Linked DNA regions of Homo sapiens: region 1 is linked to region 2. The links are contacts of gene promoters, found by promoter capture Hi-C in human tissues and cell types (Jung and others, 2019). All regions are on one chromosome and are shown on one strand. The core of a region is centred on a gene start or on the middle of the fragment in contact, and the rest is flanking DNA. Distances in the headings are between cores, read along the strand shown. Region 1 has its middle 44 kb from the start of PRSS1. Region 2 holds the start of PRSS1 (serine protease 1).

Region 1 (4,322 bases), core at 1,571-4,070, 44 kb after region 2:
GTAACATAGGTCTTGAAACGTAATATTCTTTCTCCTGTTTTCCATTTTCACTAAAGATAAGTCATGGTAAGACCAATTTGTTTTATTATACTTGGCCTGATTATTTATATAAAGTACAGCAAGAATAATTATTTTTCACATAGACTTTTAACACTGGTTTTGATGGAACTTTGTTTCTTAGAAGGAATCTTAGATAAGACTCTTTTTAAGCCGAGCCCTACCATGGGTTTGTATCCTCAAATACCTATGAGCTGAGTAAATTCCTCTCCTCTTGGGGTCCCAAGATAACTTGGGGCTCCTGGACCTGTTAGAAGGTGACATTGTTTACTTACCACAGGTCAGAAATCATGTACATGGACTGTTGTATCAAAGGTCTGAGGCCAGTTCCCCAAGGGGCTTTTATTGACTTGGCAAGTCAAGTTTGATTCCTTAGAGTATACCATTCCATCAAAGTCTTGGTAAAATAACCAGTTTCTCCAATTGTGTCTTGTTATCAAAAATAATAATAATAATAATAATAAAACAAAACAAAACAAAAACCCAACAGATTCTTATTACACTCATGCAAATAACTATATTGCCATAAATTGAGACTATTCACAATGAGTTTCCAAAATCTGGAGAAATCAAGTAAAGAGAAAAAAATATGCTCTCAATTTTGTTCACACATGTATACTTTACTCAATTGCTAAAAGCTGTAATAGCTCAAAAGTTTCCTTGACTCTGAAACACAAAACAAAAGATCAGCAACATTTTACACAAAAAGTTAAAGAGGAAAGCATTGCCTGAGGCAGGGTGGGGAAGAGGAGGCACTCGGAGACACCAGAGAAAGACCCACCCGTTGCAGTGACACTGAACAGTTCAGGTGGCCACGTGATGCTTGTGAAGGATCTTTTCCAGCGGTCCCATCAGCTCTCAAGTTTTCTGTTTTAGGGAGAAAACATTTTACACGTTAGACTTTTGCTAGTTTAGTCCATGCAGTTAACTTCTGTTCTGCTTGATATTCATGAACATTTCAGCTCTCCCTGAGTCCTGAAAGGTTTTCCTCTGTTCTGATGTCACAATGTCCAAATTTATCAGAAAATCTGCATTTAAAAGCACAGTTTTCTAGAGTCCTACATTTAATTCTAAACCACCTTTTACAGAGAACTAATATGAGACAATTGTCTGGATGACCAAAAGTCTTAGAACAGCCACAATTAAAGCCAAAATTGACTAGAAAAATGTGGTTGACTCTGTGGCATGCAATGATTTTAATTAACAATTATTAATAGCATACACTAAGTCATATCAGGGTTAAAGAAGTTTTTTTTAAAATAATTTTGGAACATGTACCAATGACACATTTATACAAATACAGCCCAAAAAAACCAAATGCCATTTTGTATTTGATAATGCTTCTTGTATGACTGTAATATTAAATAAGCCAAATGTCACTGCTGTATTCATGCATTATTGATGTCAAACCCAATTCTTAGTAAAACCTTATAGACAAATGTATTCAATCTTAATCATGTTGACCATAAGGTAAGGTTTTTATAAACCTTTTATAACCCTTTACAAGTTTTTGTTAAAGAGTAGAATAGTGCTTTTATTCCAATGTTCAGTTTCTAGAATAACTGAATAACACCCCTTTAATTTTAGCCAATGTTCGCACACAGAATCTCTTTTATGGTTATTTTTTTCATAAGCCTTCCACAGCTTTCTTGAACAGTCAGCTTCATCCTAACTTGAAACGATCCTTTAATGCTTTAATCTAGGCAAAAATCTAAATTCCCATGACTTTATATATATATATATATAATTTTAATGAAAAATGCATTTCACTTTCTTTACACAATTTGCATATAAAACTGTTTCTTCAGTAGTATCAATTACATGTTATAATGTTGACTCTTACCAAGGTTTTTCACCAAAAGTTGCTAAATTCAGGATTTTAATTATGTACTAGGTGTGGAGCCTAGCCTTGGACACACCAGGCAGAAGTGCAGATAAAGGCTGACTCCAGCATAGCTAGGGGGCGTGGCTAACTCCACATGTCCCCAGGTCTTATCTAGAATCTAATGGCTTCAAGGTAGGTTAATTGAAAATTTTTCAAAAGTTAAAGAAGCAGTTTATGACCTTCAAGCATTTAGCAGTCTTAATATGTGTCCTGCCTAATTTAAGCCAAATGTTTACATTTTTGAAGATATTTTTATTTTATCAATAATCTTCAAAACTGTCCTTATTTCTGGAAAATTAAAGTCACGTGAACTAAAAGGCACTACACTTTTTACTTTTCTGACAAAATATTTGATTTAAGCTCTCATTAAACCCATTAATCAATGCTCTTTTAGAAATAAACATCACATACACATAATACATGTAAATACATACACATAGGAATATAAAAAAACTCATCCCCTGAGGCAGGAATAGAACCCTGAACACAGGATGCCATTGTGAAAAGCGAAAACATGGCCACATGGTTACAGCTTCAAGCTCCCAAGGACATGCAAGACAAGAAAAAAATCTCATCCAATTTTTCTCAGGAACCTGCAGCAAAGTTTGTAACTGACCAGTTTGCTGGTCTGTCTTGAAAAGCAGTTTACAAGTGTCCTCAGCCAGTGTTCTATCATAAGGTACCCCTCTTTATGACAGAATAATACAGAAAAACACACAAAGCACATCAGATTTGCTACAGCTTAAGTCTAGCCTCAAAAACCCTTTCTTCCATTAATCAAAACTTTATAGGAGACAGTTACTTTTACCATTAATTCAACCAGTTTGCAAGGAGAAAAAGAGAGAGACAGAGAGAAGGAGAGAAAGAAGAAAGCACTGCCTGAGGCAGGGTGGGGAAGGGGAGGCACTCGGAGACACCAGAGAAAGACCCACCCATTGCAGTGACACTGAACGGTTCAGGTGGCCGCATGATGGTTGTGAAGGATCTTTTCCAGCAGTCCCATCAGCTCTCAAGTTTTCTGTTTTAGGGAGAAAATAGTTCCCCATGTCCCATGATCCTGTACATGCCTAATCCTGTTACACACAGCTGTCAGCAAGGAGTTGAAGGCAGATTAATCCAAAGAGAATAGCAGTTAACATCCTGTAGTGCAAAACCTGTTCTTAGCCCGAAAGGACTTTACCAAGACAGACTTTCTAAGAAGGGCCACTAACCCCCTAAATCTTGGAAAGGGATTCTAATCCTCCTAAATCGGGCCTCTAACCCAAGGTCATTCAAGTGTCCTTGCCTTTTATTAAGAGGGGCCTTTAACCCTCTCTGTCTTAGGAGAGACTCTAACTCCCCTAAGTTGAGCCTCTATCCCAATCCCATTCTTTACCTGGGTAGGTACTCCACCACTTACCCAAAGTTGTCCAATCGGTGCTGCAGTCTATTTCCTTGGGTTGGGGGGAGGTCTTCTTAGTATCATCCCTTCAGGGTTTGCCAGGAAGATGTTACAGGACCCCAACACTTACCCAAAGTTATCCTTTCTTTCCAGCGTTTCCTCACTACAGTCCCTTCATCATCACCAGAAAGCTGTTACAGGAAAGGCTCCTTATCCAGACCCCAAGAGAGGATTCTTGAATCTCAAGCAAGAAAGAATTCAGGGGGAGTCCATAGCATAAAGTGAAAGCAAGTTTATTAGGAAAATAAAGGAATAAAAGAATAGCTTCTCTATAGATAGAGTAGCCCTGAGGGCTGCTTGTGGCCTATTTTTATGGTTATATCCTTTTATATGCTAAACAAGGGATGGATTATTCATGCTTCCCCTTTTTAGAACATACAGGGTAACTTCCTGATGTCATGGCGTTTGTGTCATAGCACTGGTGGGAGTGTAGCAGGGAGGACGACCAGAGGTCACTCTTGGGACTATTTTGGTTTCGGTGGGTTTTGGCCAGCGTCTTTACTACAGCCTGTTTCATCAGCAGGGTCTTTACGACCCGTATCTTGTGCTGACCTCCTATCTCATCCTGTGACTTAGAATGCCTTCACCATCTGGGAATGCAGCCCAGTAGGTGTCAACCTTATTTTACCCAGCTCCTATTTAAGATGGAGTTGCTGTGGTTCACATGTCTCTGAAAAATCCACCCTTAAAAGTGGCATCGTCTGATTCAAACTCCTGCCTTTGTACTTTTGCCTCTTAGGCTACTTCCCGGCACGACTTCTTTCATCAGCTGCCTTTTTTCAGCTGCTTGGAAATAGAGCCTTATAATAGTTTTCTCTTACTGCTGTATCCTATTACTGCAAATTAGTGGCTTAAAACAACGCAAACTTATTATCTTACAGTTCTTTTGGTTGGAAGTCCAGGGTCGGTCTCATTGGCAGTTTGCTCTTTGGAGGCTCT
Region 2 (3,870 bases), core at 841-3,340:
GGGGAAGAGTCAAAGGGATCCCACCAGAGGCTGCTCCTCAACCTGCCTCCCCAGACTCTTTCCCACAATCTCCACAGTCACTAGCACTGTGGGCACAAGGAGCTCCTTGAAGTTTTCCCAGCGTTCTTCACCCCAGGCCTTTGCCAACTGTGCACAGTGCCTGTTCCTCCCTCCATTCTTGGCCTGGTGAGAACCACCCTTCTGTGTAATCTAATCCAAGGGTAGCCATAGCATTAGCATCTCCTGGGAACTTGTTAGAAATGTGAATTCTTGGTCCTTACCCCCACCTACTGATCAGAACCTTGGGGAAGGGGCCCAGTGATTTGTGCCTTAACAAGCCTGCAGGGCGTTCTGATGCATACTCAGGTTTGAGAGTTCTTGGTGTAGGCAGCAGTTCTCAGCTCTGTCTATACACTCTACAGTTAGCAGAGGTAGAGTGTAAAATTCTCACTGATATTCACACCCTCTTCCTGAAAATTTTGACTTAATTGCCCTGGGATAGGACAAAGGCATCTGTATTTTTAAAAAGTCTTTCTTAGTTGGCTTTAATGTGTAGCTAACCAGCAAAAGATACTTGCCTGCTTTTCTCACTAGCTCTCACCACCCCAAGATCATCCCTGCCTGCTTTTATGACCACAACCCTTGCTGTTTCATGGATTTGCCTGGGTGTGAGAGGTTCCTGTCTTGTGTTCACTCTCTGCTCTGGAGAGTCCGCAGCTGCCAACAAGTTTTCTTCTCCACCACCTCTCCCATCCATCTTACCCAACCTCAGTAGTTCCCTGGGCTGAAGCCAAGCTCTCCCAGGCAGACTGGCCGGGAGCTTTGCAGTCGGGGGCCCCACACTTACGACTTGTAGCAGTGGCCTGCTGATACCACCCACTGTTCGTTGATGAGGGAGCCACCACAGAAGTGGTAGCCAGAATTCAGGGACACCTGGTAGGGGACAGAATTCTCCTCACAGTTGTAGCCCCCAACGATCTTGTCATCATCATCAAAGGGGGCAGCAACTGGAGTGGAGATGGGAAGGGAGAAGGCAAGTCAATAGCATGTTAGGGGTGGCGCTCCCAGCCTGTGATTGCTTTCTGCTAATTAGAAATCCTTAACAAGCACAGTGAGGCTAGGCAAGGGAGGGAGCTCTGCCACCCCTGGTGATCATCACTGCCTGTGGCTCCCAAGTCTCTGTGCCTGCAGGGCACATAGCTAGGTACCCTGCGGAGGATCCGAGCTCTCCTGGGGTCACCAGGCTGAAGTCGCAAGGAATGTCCTCACAATGCTTCCAGTGGGATAGGAGTTGGGATGTGGTTGTCTCTCCCACTGAGTGCTTCTCTCTTTTATTCATCACCTGTGTACTTCCCCTGGCTATTTGGGCCCTGGATTGTCAGGATTCTTTTGCCAAGCTAGGAAAACCCCCTGTCTGCATAGACCTGGCCATGACCACCTTCCCCCATAGCTCAGATCTGTGCAGTCAGGGCAGAGTTGAGGGCAGCCCCCAGGCTCACTTTGGCAGAACAAAGGTAGACTTTGTTATTGGCCAATAGGACAGCAATTCTTAACCTTGGCTGCATGGCTGGAAATATTAAAAATCACCTGGGAAGCTTAAAAGCCCAGAACACAAGCTCTACCCCAGACAATTGAAGTTAGAATTTCTAGAGCTGAGTCTCTGGCATGAGTAATTTTTCAACCTCCCCAGGTGCATTCGAGGTTAGGAGCAGCTATAGTGGTGCTATTCTGTTGCTGTTGGAGCCAAGCCTGAAGCCTGCTGCTTCATTTCGTGGGACAGCCCCACCTGGCCCCCTTCCCAGCTTCTCCAACCACAACTCGGATATGGATGAATGACAGTGGTGGGAGTGAAGTCAAGGAGAAGGTGAACAGGTGAGACTTAAAAAGAGCCCAAGGAGGATGGGAAGGAGATATGCCAGATGGAGGAAACGGAATATCAGAGCACAGTCAAAAGAGGAGAGGTGGTAAGAATGGAAGGGCATTTGTCGGCCAGGAACGGGGGGGTGGTTGGGGCCTGAGGCAGGGCATGATACTCACGAGCAGCTGCCACAAAGGTAAGGATCAGGAGTGGATTCATGGTGGTAGAGTGTGCCTGACTGGTGGTGGAGGACTCGTCTTTATACCTCACGAGGATCCAGAGAGGAGGTGACTGTGAGGTGAGGGTCACCACTCCTCCCAGCACAAACACACCTGCAGCTTTCCTCTTCCCAGGGTCTTGCATCAGCCTGGCTATGTTTGGCCACTCTCTGGGTTTGTGATTCACAGGTGATAAGGAAACTTTCCTTCTGAGAGCAGAGAGCGAGACCGGCTGTTTCCTGCAAGGATACTGGGATGGGGAAGACAGGGAAAGTCAAGCCCCAGATAACAGAGCTGGGCTTTCTTAGGCCCTGGAGATGAGGGTTAGAAGGAGGGAGAATGGCCTAGCTGTTTACAAATCTTTCCACCTATTGGGAATGTATTTAATGTACTTAAGGAAGGGCAAGCATTGGTAAAAAGCTTGGATTTCAGTTTCCTGGGGCCCACATGAGAGGAGCAAAGTCTTATCTAAGGCTCATTCCTGTGAATATGAAGATGCTTCTCTCCAGTCAGTGTGCAGGAAGGTCAAATGCAAGATTTTGGGGAATGAAAATTCCAACACTAAGGGGTAAGGAGAAGGGAGACTCAGCATTCCATAGGATTCTGGGCTTCCAGATTTCTCTCCTTCCTACCAAGGCTTAAGGATGGGAAGTGTTTCAAAGAAGGAGGGGGCACAGTTTCTGTAGGAGCTTTCTCAGTGCCTCTGGAGGATGGAAAACCAATGGCGCACTCCTCCCCTTCTTCAATGTGAAGACATTTGTCTCTCTCATGTGCATCCTGTCATAGGTTCTTTTTATGCAGCCTCACTGTTGTCCTTGCAATCTGCACTCAGGTGATGCAAACTGACCCACCTGCTCAGGGCTGACAGTCTGAACCAGAATGATCAGATGATCATTTTCTATTTTCGATGCAGTGAGATTATGCTTGGCTCAGTACAAAGTGAATCTTCCTAGAGAATATCCTGATTTGGGCCCTACCAAGGCTACTAAGACACAGTTGTGTAATTGACTGAGGCACAACCTGGCCAGAGCAGTGTGGAAATGGAGATGCTGTCTGTGCTCAAGTCTAATGATGTAGGGAAAGGAGGAGCTTCCTTATGAGGGTGCTTTCCCTTCTCAGCAACTCTGAGCTCAGGCTGGTGATGGGCAGGAGTAAGTAGAGTTCAAGTTTGGATTCTTTGAAAGGTAAAAGAAGCAGAAATGTTCTAGAGACGGTGGACAAAATGGGAAAAGCTCAGAAACTTGGTGTTGAAATCGGACCTGGCCAGGGGGCTAGAGGGAGGAAGCAAATGGAAACCAGAGGGAATTGGAAATAATGCCAAAGTGGGGCCCATGGTGTTGAGAGGACACACAGAGTACCTTCGGTTTCAGCTCCTGGTATGGCTGCTGAGCCAGCTTCCCCACAGCCAGGAGACCCACTGCTTGGAGACCCCCTCTCCGCCTCGCACCCCCTCTAATCACTAATGGGCCCATACCTAACACTGCTATGCTTAGATGGTGCACAGTGCCTGACAACTTTACAAGAGTTTTCATGTAAGCAACAGTGGTACATTACTTTTCATTTATGCTGAGTTTCACACTTTAACTTCCCACAAACATGCTAATTGTAATTTGTGCAGAGCAAAATTGTTTCCATTTATAGAGCAAGAGACTGAGATTCAGAAGGATTCTGTCTTGCCCAAGAATACAGATCTTGGCAGAGCTGACCATAAGGCCAACAGAAGCCATGGAGAGCATTGTGAAGTGTGGGAATTTCATCTAAGAGGAGGTATCTAAAAGGAGATTTATTGAGGAT

Evidence for each region. The method cuts DNA at HindIII sites, captures the fragments that hold promoters and counts their contacts. A contact is called where the count stands out against the background at its distance.
Region 1: a contact is called between a fragment that was not itself captured here and the fragment with the promoter of PRSS1 in region 2, in 1 of the 25 tissues and cell types used here (neural progenitor cells).

What each region holds. Positions count from the first base shown.
Region 1 is chr7:142,703,534-142,707,855 of GRCh38, reverse strand. It overlaps TRB. Among named protein-coding and RNA genes, the nearest start is that of PRSS1, 44 kb to the left of the region's middle. The HindIII fragment of the contact is 6,355 bases long and covers 1-4,322 here.
Region 2 is chr7:142,747,692-142,751,561 of GRCh38, reverse strand. PRSS1 (serine protease 1) reads right to left here and starts at 2,090. Exons shown (of 5, transcript NM_002769.5): 1 at 2,038-2,090; 2 at 848-1,007. The coding sequence starts at 2,077. It also overlaps TRB. The HindIII fragment of the contact is 6,237 bases long and covers 1-3,870 here.